Regions from separate parts of the Homo sapiens genome. Here regions 2 and 3 are each linked to region 1. Evidence: promoter capture Hi-C in 16 types of primary human blood cells and fetal thymus (Javierre and others, 2016). All regions are on one chromosome and are shown on one strand. The core of a region is centred on a gene start or on the middle of the fragment in contact, and the rest is flanking DNA. Distances in the headings are between cores, read along the strand shown.

Region 1 (3,619 bases), core at 555-3,054:
CTAGTTCAAATCCATAAAGAATGGAAGACTGCCCAGTGGTCATTCATTCACTTATTAATTCTAGATGTTAAATTTTCTAGGGTGGGGGAATGTGCTCCTACATTCAAGGCATTCTTGAATGTAGCCAAACTTTGTAGTTTAGCCAAACTTCATAGCTAATAGCCAAACTTTGTAGTTTAGCCAAACTCTTCTAGCAGCAAAACCCATGACACTGGAACTCTGTTCTTCACACTGGTCATTTGTAATAGAATAACAGAGCTTTAGCACTAGATAGGTTCTGAAAGATCATTGAATCTAATCCTCTCCCTTTGCCAGTGAGAATTCTGAAGCCCAGATTTGTTGATTTGTGATCGATAGTGTCAAAGACAGGCCTGAAACACAGATGTCCTGGGTCCTAGAGGTGCTGTTTGCCCCTCTCCATATTTCTTTTGTTCCAGAAAACCCTTCTCCAAAACTGGCCCTAATAATCAGAGGGGAAAGCCATGGCCCCTGCCTTGGGGACAGCATGGGTTGGCACAGAAAAGAGGTTTACAATTCAGCAGGAAGTGTTGTGCGTGCGCGCGTGTGTGTCTGTGGAGGCGCAGGGAGGGTCACCTGAGCTTGCCCTGGGTCTGGTCCTGGGCTCAGTGGCAAATTCAACGCTGGGCAGGTGGCCTGAGGACAATGACGGTGCCAGCTGTGAGTCAGACTTCCTTTATTCATAAAATCATGTTCCTCCATGCAGTGCTTCTCAACCTGGCTGCACGTCAGGAGCCACCTGGGTAGCTTTGTAAAAACCCCAATGCCCAGTTGGTTTGCACCCCCTGAGATTCTGATTAAACTGTTCTGGAGTCCATCTCTCTCTTTTTATTATCTATCTATTTATTTATTTTTTAATTTGGCGGCTCCTCTGGGACTTCTCATATGCAGTAGGGGTTGAGAATTGCTGGTTTCTTTGGCCAGATGGGAACATGCAGGCCAATAGTTACGCACAAACAGAGCAGCAGAGCAGGACGGTGCTAAGGTTGGAAAGGGTGAGTCATGAAAGTTCAGGAAATCAGAATAGGAAGGGGTGAGAATCCTCTCATCTGGGCTTGTGGGGCAGGAGAGAAGAGCCCAGTGGGCAAGGTCCAGTGAGTGTGCTTAGAACTGGGAAGATGAGGGGAAGGGTAAGCGCTGGGCGGCGGTGGGCAAGATGGACGAGATTAAACGGGAGCGAGGATTTCAGCGAGAGCTTTGGCGACACGGAAGGCTGAGAATCGGAGGGAGCCTGTCGGGCGAAAGCGAAGGCGGCTGCTGGGCAGGCAGCCGAATCCGGCTGGAGAGCCGAGCTGGTGAGACCTACAGGAAGTGAAGGGAGTCGCTCAGGGCGTGGCGCAACGAGACTCTTAGAAGAAACTCTGAGGCAGAGATGGGGGGCCTCCGCCCATACGGAGACACAAGGAAGTCCACATGCACACGCACGAGCGCGCACATGAACACGCACAAGCACACAAACGCCTCCTCCGGGCAGGGCACACGCGCCCGCTGCACAGGCCGAGGCCCTGGACTCGGAGGGGACTGCAGAGCCGACCCACAACCCGGGCCCCGATGCCCCTCCCGGCCGCGCCCCTACGACTGCTTGCGCAACAGGCGGCGGCTCCAGTGGGCGCCCGCCGCGCGCTGCCGGAGCCCAGCCCAGCCCGGCGCGCCCGGGAGGAGGGAGCAGGGAGCGGGGAAGGGGTGTGTCCCGGCTGCGTGCTGGGACTGCGAGGGTCTGGGAGGGGCGAGGCGCGGGGGCGGGGCCGCGGCGCCTATAAAGTCGCCCTCCGCCCGGACGTAAACAAACCTCGCCTGGCTCCCAGCTGGTGCTGAAGCTCGTCAGTTCACCATCCGCCCTCGGCTTCCGCGGGGCGCTGGGCCGCCAGCCTCGGCACCGTCCTTTCCTTTCTCCCTCGCGTTAGGTAAGCCCGCGCCCTCTTCTCCCAGGCGCGACGCGGAGCAGAAAGGGGCCGCCCGTGCGGTGCCGCTGGAGCGCCAGGACCGCCCTTTGTAGCCCCGCGTACTCCAGGAGTAAGCGCCCCGGAGCTGCAAGTGCGCGGTCACCCCGGGGCGCGGGCGCGAGGGGGCTTTGGGTGCAGACACCGCTGAAGTGGGGGGTTCAATTACGGAAAGGGAGGAAAAAAAGACAGGGTCCCATTCATCTCCCCCCTAGCTGGGGATTGGGGTTCTGGAGGTCGGGAAGGGGGCGATGAGACGGTCCGAAAAAATACCAGGATAGCGTTTCCTGGCGTCGTCTCCGAATCCCAGCTGGCGCCGCTGGCAGGGGTGCGCGCTGGACGTGGGTGCAGAAGGGACTAGGTGAGTGTGTGTGTGTGTGTGTGTGTGTGTGTGTGTGTGTGTCTGTGTCTGGGAACGGAGAGATTGCGCGCGAGTGTGTAGATGAGGGGTTGGTAGAGGTGAGTGGCGCTGGCAAGGAGGCTGGAGAGGGGGGCGTGGGTGTGTCTGGCTTGCAGACTGGGTCGGGAACGGGTGTGGATCCGAGAGGCTGGTGGCGCTTCAGTCCCGTAGCACACACAGGGCGGTGTGCATGTGTGAGTGTAAGCGTGTGTGTGGGGGGAGGGTCCAGGGTGTGTCACAGTGCAACACGCGAGCCGGAGCAAGTGTCTGCGAGCGCCACTGGGCAGGGTGCGCCCCCGGAGGAACCCGGGATTGGCGCATCGGCGGCGTGGGAGAAGTGACCTGGGCGAGAGGGGTCTCGCGGACATTTGGCGGCCCCTTGAGCTGGCTGGAGCTAGGAGTGGCGTCATTTTCGCCTCCGCCCACCCTCCCCCGCTTTCCTCCCCTCCCCTGCCTCTGGTGCTGGCCGCTCCTGCCCTCCACGGGGGAAAACAGCTGGAATTACTTCGACGTTCCTGGGGGATCCGCCGCGGTCTCTGATTCAGCCTCGGGAGGAGATTTCGGGCTGGGCTTGGGGAATGCGGCTGGTTCTGGGGGAAACACGCTGTCACGCCTCTGTCAAATTAGTAGCTGGAGCTGGGATTTAGTGGGTCGGTTCCTTACCCACCCCTCCCCCATATCCCCCGCCTGTTGTCCCTGCTGTCCCTGGGGGTCCTGAACAGCACGCCTCTGTGGCTTGGAAGTGGGAGATGCCTGGCAGTGGGTGGGGGAGGCAGGGCCCTTGGTTATCTTATGCCCATCCAAGAACACCCCTTCCTCACGGACGCTGGGGGCACTTCAGTTTGTTTGGTTTCTTTAAGCTACTGGGAAATATCTAATATTCAGAAGTCAGCCAGTGGCCAGGCAGGAGGGCGGTAGACATCCTTATAATACCCATCAGCTGCACGGGACCTTCTCCTAAGCTGCCTCAAAAGAACATATCTAAATACAAACCCCCTGTTCTTGCTGCAGAAATGTAGTTTCAAGGCGAATTTTTCAGTCTAGACTCTTCCTGTTGAGAAATTCTGGCGTTCTTATTGAGTTTCACAAATGTGATTGAAATAAGCAAGGTACAGAGGGGGCAAACCCCAGCGCCTTTCTTGGAAGGGCTGCCTTCTGGTGGGGAAGACACACGGCTGGAGACGCAGACCGGTTCTGTGTGGTGTGTGTGGCGGCAGAGCCAGCCCCAGGCTGGGGTGGCACAGTGTCGGGGATGAAGGAA
Region 2 (3,521 bases), core at 404-2,903, 400 kb after region 1:
GCTCCTTGCACAGTAGGCAGGCACTCAACAGATTGTCCTTTAAGAATAACACTTAGGCTGAAGCTTGAAAGAATATTATAGTAGACCTCTACAATAACTTCCATACAGAAATCAGTAGGTCAGTGAAGTGTCTTCAGGCACATGAGATAATAGTAATAATAGGTAGGCTCTATACTCATATGTTATGTGTGAGGCACTAGCTAAATACATACCTTAATTAATTTAATCCTCACAGCAATCTGAAGAAATGTCATGTTATCCCATTTAATGGATGAGAAAACTGAGACACAGATGGATTAAGCAACTTAACCAAGGGTTCACAGACAGAAAGAAGAGAGGTTGGCCTTGGAACACAGGAGGGCGATTGACATCAGCTGCCCTCGTAGGTTTCCCTACCAAACTCCTACAGTTTAGTTTTTAACCCCTTTGAAACTTGGATATCCACAAAAATCATATCAGATCTTCACAGCAGCTCCATGAAGCCAGAACTTTTACCCCAGGTGAGGACACAGAGGCTCAGCGAGGGAGGTTATATGATGAACCACTGGCCACCCCACTAATGAAACTGCATCTGTCCTCAGCTCTTGCAGTCCCCGACCCACTGGGCTTTGCACATGGCTTTCCCCACCACCAACATAGTACATAGTGTTCCCATTTATTGTGTTAGATTTGTCTCCTCCGCACTAGCATTTAAGCTCTTTGGTGCAGAGATTTGTGTTTATTTTGCATGTAGAGGAGTGTCTGGCTCATAGTAGGCACTCAAGAAATCACCGATTGGGAAAAAAGCGTGAATGAATGCATGAGGGGGAGAGGAAGAAGCAAGGGTGGGCAGCGGGTGGGACACACATCAGTTTGGTGTGGGTCTTACCAGGCCCAGTCTGATTTGCCACAACCACCACCCTCCTCCTAAGTGGCCATGAACTGTCGCCTGAGCTCTTTCTCCACTCCTGCTGGCACTTGGGGCAGGTTGGGGCTCCTCACCAGGATCCTGGAGGGAGAACGGGAATATCTGTGGCAGCACCATTGGCAGTCACCTGCAGTTCATTGGGACAGTTCTCCCCACTCCCCACCTTTCAGAAACAGGCTTCATGGCTCCAGACGAGAGAGCTTGCAGATACAAGGATGCCACCAACTCACAGTCAGAGCCCATCTGGGGACACCAGGACCGACCTCTGAAGCAGCCCCATACAGTGGACAGCGTTCTGGAGTCTGCCAGGCCTCCTTCTGAATCCCGGCACTGCGCCTCCTAACTGTGATCATGAGCAAGTTGCCCAACCTCTCTGAGCTTCAGTTTCCTCATCTATGGAATGGGTCTAACACTCACCTAACAAGACAACTGTGATATTTACATCAAAGGAGCTGATAGGTGTTAAACACCAAGTGCTTGCCAGACACAGCGGTGTGCATTTCCTCCCATGGCCTTCGCCACGCTCATTAGGCCCTCAGACATGGCTACCATGTTCTAGTGGCCAAAGGCACTTCGCTCTGGGCCCTCAATCCCCAGACTCTCAGGGAAAAGACCAGGCCTGGTCCTCTATGGTCCCTTCCTCTTTCCTCTACAAGCTCAGACATGCAAAGCGGAGCATGTGGCTACTTGGAGAGGAACTTCTCAGCTCGACTTCTGAAGAAAATGCCAACATGCCATTCAATGACTAATCTCAACAGCACCAGCAACATTGCCTCCCCTTTCTCGACATTTCCCTCCCTGACCAAAGTGGTCACAACTGAAGGAGCACCAATCCCACTTCTCTCTTTGATTACCTCAAATCCTGTCTTTGTACAAAAATGTAAAACAACATGGTTCTTCCCAAAAGCAGAAGTCTCCCAGTCTCTGAGGAACAGAGAAAAGCAGTGCCTAGGCATAGGGTGAGGGTAGTGGACGGAAGAGAGAGAAAGAAGGGAGGAAGAAAGCAATAAGGATGGTTAACCACCAGCTACTCAGCTCCTTGTAGGTGTCAGGCACTGTGCCACGCACCAGGGATATAGAAAGAATAAGACACAGTGCCTTGTTCTCCAAAAGAGATGTCTGGTGTGAGAGAGAAGCAGGAAACAAAGATGGCACACATGAGATTGTCACGTGGTATTAGGAGAACAAAGATCACTGAGACCCAATCCCACGCTGGCCATAGACACCCTGGAGTGCCTGCTGGCGTGGATGGGAAGGCAGGGAGCTGCCCTCCTGCTGGAGGGATTCTCTTTGACTTGGAGCAGATGTTGTCAGGGGAGGACTGTCTTGCTGTTTGGTGACTCAAGCCTAGAAAGCTAGACAGGGAATCAGCTGAGACCATTTGACAGGGATGGGGATCCTGAGTAAGATTCAAAGACAGATTAATCATTTGTCCTTGTCAAGTTGATGTGGGGTCAGTGAGAAATCTTGGAAGGGACCTGTTCTCCTGCCAGAGCAGCTGTGAGGTTATGGAGGAAGAACAAGGGCTCTAGGATGAGGCAGAGCTAGGCACTGACCTCAGCAATACCTGGAATCTGCCTGGCAGGGAACAGGAGAGATGAACTGGAGGACCAGGTCTCTGGGCTTCCCATCCAGGCCCACTGGTTATCACTTGTGTGAATTCGGGCAAGTGACTTAACCTCAGACTCCATTTCCCCATTTGCAAAGAATTGTGGATGGTGATTATACCATCATTCTCCTGGAGCTGTCAGAGGATTAAATGTGAAGATCTGATAATCTACTTAGCACAGTAAGTGCCTGCTCAAAGGTGAAGTTAGAATATTGTTTAGCTGGTTAAGGGCTGTGACTCATGCCTGTAATCCTGGCACTTTGGGAGGCCGAGGCAGACAGATCACTTGAAGTCACGGGTTCGAGACCAGCCTGGCCAACATGGTGAAATCCTGTTTCTACTAAAAATGTGCAAATATTAGCTGCATGTGGTGGCACACACCTGTAGTCCCAGCTACTCAGGTGGCTGAGGTGGGAGGATTGCTTGAGCCCAGGAGTTCGAGGCTGTGGTGAGCTATGATTGTGCCACTGCACCCCAGCCTGGGTGACAGAGCAAGACTCCGTCTCAAAAAAAAAAAAAAAGCATACTGTTCAGCTGTTATTATAGACCAGAGGACTGCAGGCTCCCTGAGCTTATGCCTCTGTCGCATGCAGGTAGTAATTCCTGCTTTTTGGAGTTACTCTCAGGATCAGATGAGATCAATGTGTCATAGTTACTTAATATCGAGGCTTCCTCTCCCCTCCTGCTGTGTGGTGTTCCTGAATCCCTGGAAATGGAGGGAAGCTTTGGAGCAGGCCGTAAGGGGTGTTTGAGCATTCACGGGCTTGGGTCCCTCGCATTTTAACAAGAATATTGGCTTTGTGGGAGCGGCAGGTGCCATCTGAAACCTGCCCTAGGGTAGATTCGCTGGAGAATTAAGGAGCATTTTAGAGATGCGTGCAGCATTCCAGCTTTGACTGGTGCCCCCAAACCACTTTGCCTTTTCCTTCCCAAGAACCCATCAGTCTGGGGAAGCCAAACCACAAAGTCCTAAGGATGACTGAGGAGAGACGAATTTAAGCTCCT
Region 3 (4,052 bases), core at 609-3,108, 450 kb after region 1:
CCCAGCTGAGGTTATTTACAATGTATTTTTTTTTTTCTGAAGGCAAACACCAAGCATACTCAGGATCAAACTGTACGTTGAGCCTGAATACTGCCATTCAACTATATATATGATATATATAGTATAGGTGATATATAGGTTTTGGATGGACTGGTGGCATTATGTAAGACTTAGGGTGGGAGAACTCCCACAATATTTAAAATCCTCTTTCCAGCAGAATCATGATCACTTGGCACATCGGACCCTTCTGCAAGCCAGTTTGTTTTTAATGAGCTTAATGCCTGCAATATATTCCAATTATTTGGTGTTTGTTTTTTAAATACATTCATAATGAAGTAAGAATTCCACAACTGTTTTCCCCAGAAGTGAGATTTCTACTGTCAGTTTTCTGATTGAGAACATTCATCGCCCAAGAAACAGCTCATGATCCTTTAAAAGTTTAAATACCCTAAATTTCCGTACAGCTGGATCAACTGCTGAGAAGACAGTTCTTAGAGCAACCCTGTAGAATTCTCCAGAATTTAAATTTCCTTTACAATTTTGTTTTTGGCCAAGTGCTGGTTTATAAACATAGATCTTTCTATTAAAAACTATACAAATATACCATATTTCTTTCTACAGGTATCTTGAGCTTCACGTAAGCAACTACTCAAAAATTCTGAGAACTTGAAATCCCTTAGTATACATTATATTCTACTTCATTGTTCCTTGGCATATAACACATTCTCATTTGCAGCTTGCTCATGAATTTGTTTTTAAATACTAGCTTCCTTGATAAAGTTGTTCTTCATTTTTCTTTCCAAGGTGCCATCCTATTGACATCACAAATCAGTGAATGACCAGACATTACTAAGCTTTTAAATTATCCACTTAGCCATCACGTGGATAATAAAAATGCTTTGACTGAAGAAAGCCACATTCTTTCATTAAGTGTTCACTGTTGTCATACAGAGCAAAGAGTTGCTATCTGCTGTACTTTGCCCATGTCAATTAGGAGCTGTTTTATGTGGCGTTTAAGTTGGGGCAATCTTGCAAGAGGATCTGGTGGCTCCAACTCCCCTGTGAAATCAAGCCAGCTTTCCAGAACTAAAAGAGAGAAGAAGATAAACAAATTTAAACTGCAACTGGAAGAACAGTCAGAAAATGAAACAATCAGAAAGTTGGAGCTGTGATGGAGTTAAGGGTTCACTTCCCCATCTTTAGAAGGCCAACATACTCAAGACATTTCCGAGAGGTTAGCGTCCTGTCATCCCACCCCACAGAGTTCTAGTCCCTCTTGGCAATTTTTATCTGTCATTTAAGATAATTTTCCCCTTTATATATATAGGAATTATGTATTTTTATATATAAGGGGGAAAATACATATACACACACACATAAACATATACACACACTAACTTCATTTTGAAGGTCTCCTTTTACTCACTTCTGGAATAAGATAACAACAGTTCCCTATGTTTGCTCAAGCTTTCTATTAATTTAGACTCGTCATCTCTACATAAAACATACCTAATCATATTTTTTAATCCAGAAGCTCTTCTTAACAAAGAAAAGGAAGTAGCAATTTCTCAGTGTTCTTTTCAGTTCCACTATTTTAACACTACTTTTTAAAAGACATGCAAGCGTATTAAAATTGTAGGCAGAATGCAATTGATTATATTCTATAGTTTTTATTAATGTTTCCTTTGGAAATCTACCCTAATAATATGAAATAGTATCAAGATGCATTTTCTTTTCTTCAAACATGGACTCAAAACATCACATTAACTCTACAGTTAGCTTATACCCAGATGGAAGAGGCTTCTAAAATGGGTTTCCATTTTCTCTCTTCTTCTCTCAAGGGGGAAAAAAAGGAGTAGGAGCTCTAACTTAGTGTAGAGGAGAGGTATCACGTGCTTATGCCAAATTAAAAAAAGTAAAGTTGGGGTGCAGAATATCGTCTATGATGTTAGGAAGAAACAGGAGTCAGAAAGCATTAAGAACAACATGGACTGAGAATCAGGTAGTCTAAGTTACTCTAGTTTCTCAACTATAAAGTAGTGATAGTATCTTTCTTGCCCACTTTTCAGGCCTCCTGTGTGATGACACAATTTTAAAATATAAAAGAAAACCACTTAAGGTTTACCTACTTAACTTTGTAGAAGTTTTTGTTAATTTAACAAGTGCTAACCAAAGTAAAAAATATTCAAAATGTTTTCACATTTCAAACATGCTTAAATTCCTTATGTTGACTTCCAAAGAAAGCTTAGTTCAATGAAACTAATCAATTTATTCCATAAGTGATCTATCTGGAGCCTGGCAAATAGACAGTATTTAATAAATATCCACCTTAAAAAAGTAAAAACAACCTAAGGTCATACCCGGTCACATTGTTTTAAGCGTAAAAGATCCCAAATGTGTTAAATACAATACAAAGGGAGTAATAAAGCCCCATCGGTATGGAGAGTATCTGCAGTTTTCATCCCATAATTTAAGAATTTTAAGTAACTTCTTCATAGTAACAATAAATTCACTATAGTAACTGTATTTTAGTTCTTTCTTAAATTACCATCGACTTCTTTTTCTATTAGGTCCATCCTGCTGGTAACTTCGTTCTGCACATTTTCTATGTGTGTAAGGAGATTGAGCTGCCACTGAAGATGTGAGTCTCCTGGGTCTTCGGTGCCCTTTTTATCATTATAAACAAATACTGTATTCCCTTCAGCTGGATTCTTCTCCAAAGGACCATTGGAAAATAAACACAAAGAACGGGATGAAATGCAGTCATTGAGTTAAGGATACAGGAAACACCTCATCACTGGTAACAGTTAGTGAGATCCAATCTGACTCCAGGGGTATCTTTAAAGAAGTACTGCTACATAACCAAATTCCAGCTGGTGGTTCTTAAGAGCTGATGCACCCACCACCTCCCTCCACTATGCCTCGCATGGTGCTACACAGGCAAGAAGGCTTCAATAAAATGCGCTAAATAAATGAAGTCACTAATTCTATTGTGTAATTAGAATTCCTGATTAATTTAGACTGGCCTCTTCCTCAATTAATCTCAGCTGGTGATATAAGTGGACATAAGAGTGGAAAGCAATGATGAAAAGAAATCAAGAGCGTTTCCAAAGACCAGTATAAAATCTAATTAACTACAGACTGGACTTTACTGTTATAGTACAGTAAATCAATGAAGGGAGGGAAAGGCAAAAACCTTTTACAAGTTTCAAAAGTACAAACTGCTTCACACACACACACACACACACACACACACACACAATGTGCGTTTGGATTTGCCAGAGATAACTCATTTTGCACATGGGATATTAATTAAACAAAATAACTTACCACAAACTTTATGATACGAAATACAAACGTTCCAATTCACTTAAGTACTTATTTATGGTAATTACTTGTTAAGGAATGCAGAAAAAAAACATCTAATTTTAAAGTGGCCTCATTAATTGAAAATCAGTAAAAAATAAAGGTACATTTCTAAGATAATCCCAGTGAACAGGAAATAAGTTTATAGATGTCCAATGCACATAGATCTGTCAGAATTCACCTTACTGAATAGTGGGATGCATTGACAAACATGCTAAAATTTTTTAAACAGACAATTAGAGTGCCACCTTTTATCTAACTCACATAAAGAGGAAGACAAATCATTACACCCATATGTACTTTCACATTCTTACACACTGACATTTTCGTTTTGAATACAATGTGGTTCATTTTTTAGAAGCATCGAAATGTACTTATACAATTGAAACTTTTGTTAGAGTAACAGTTTATTGAATTACTACAATTCTGAATTAGGAGATAATCAAATGTTCAAATGGCCAGTGTTTTCCTGTAGAGAAAACAAAAAAATCTCCTTACTTTAACAAGGTACTGGGGAACTTGGAAATACAACTAAAATCTGGGAATTCAGTATGCCTTATTTTATAAAATTTTCCTTTGTTCTTCTCTCATAGTTTCCAAGCAAAGAAAAATGAACTAGTTTTACCTTTTCAGGCATTCCATGTTCTTTTGCTGAGTACTGTAAACTGTTTTTACTTCTCATGTGG

Evidence for each region. The method cuts DNA at HindIII sites, captures the fragments that hold promoters and counts their contacts. A CHiCAGO score of 5 or more calls a contact.
Region 2: a fragment that was not itself captured here is called in contact with the fragment with the promoter of NDRG1 in region 1 in 1 of 17 cell types (monocytes); the score reaches 5.1 in monocytes.
Region 3: a contact is called between a fragment that was not itself captured here and the fragment with the promoter of NDRG1 in region 1, in 2 of 17 cell types (activated CD4 T cells and naive CD4 T cells). The highest score is 5.4, in activated CD4 T cells.

Annotation. Positions count from the first base shown.
Region 1 is chr8:133,295,437-133,299,055 of GRCh38, reverse strand. NDRG1 (N-myc downstream regulated 1) reads left to right here and starts at 1,804. Exons shown (of 16, transcript NM_006096.4): 1 at 1,804-1,922. RefSeq lists a silencer at 1,474-1,923. The HindIII fragment of the contact is 9,218 bases long and covers 1-3,619 here.
Region 2 is chr8:132,893,978-132,897,498 of GRCh38, reverse strand. The region is part of intron 11 of TG (thyroglobulin); the gene reads right to left. Among named protein-coding and RNA genes, the nearest start is that of TG, 29 kb to the right of the region's middle. The HindIII fragment of the contact is 3,176 bases long and covers 66-3,241 here.
Region 3 is chr8:132,842,815-132,846,866 of GRCh38, reverse strand. PHF20L1 (PHD finger protein 20 like 1) reads right to left here. Exons shown (of 21, transcript NM_016018.5): 19 at 3,992-4,052; 20 at 2,549-2,711; 21 at 1-1,086. The coding sequence ends at 944. Among named protein-coding and RNA genes, the nearest start is that of TG, 22 kb to the left of the region's middle. RefSeq lists a silencer at 3,587-3,726. The HindIII fragment of the contact is 777 bases long and covers 1,470-2,246 here.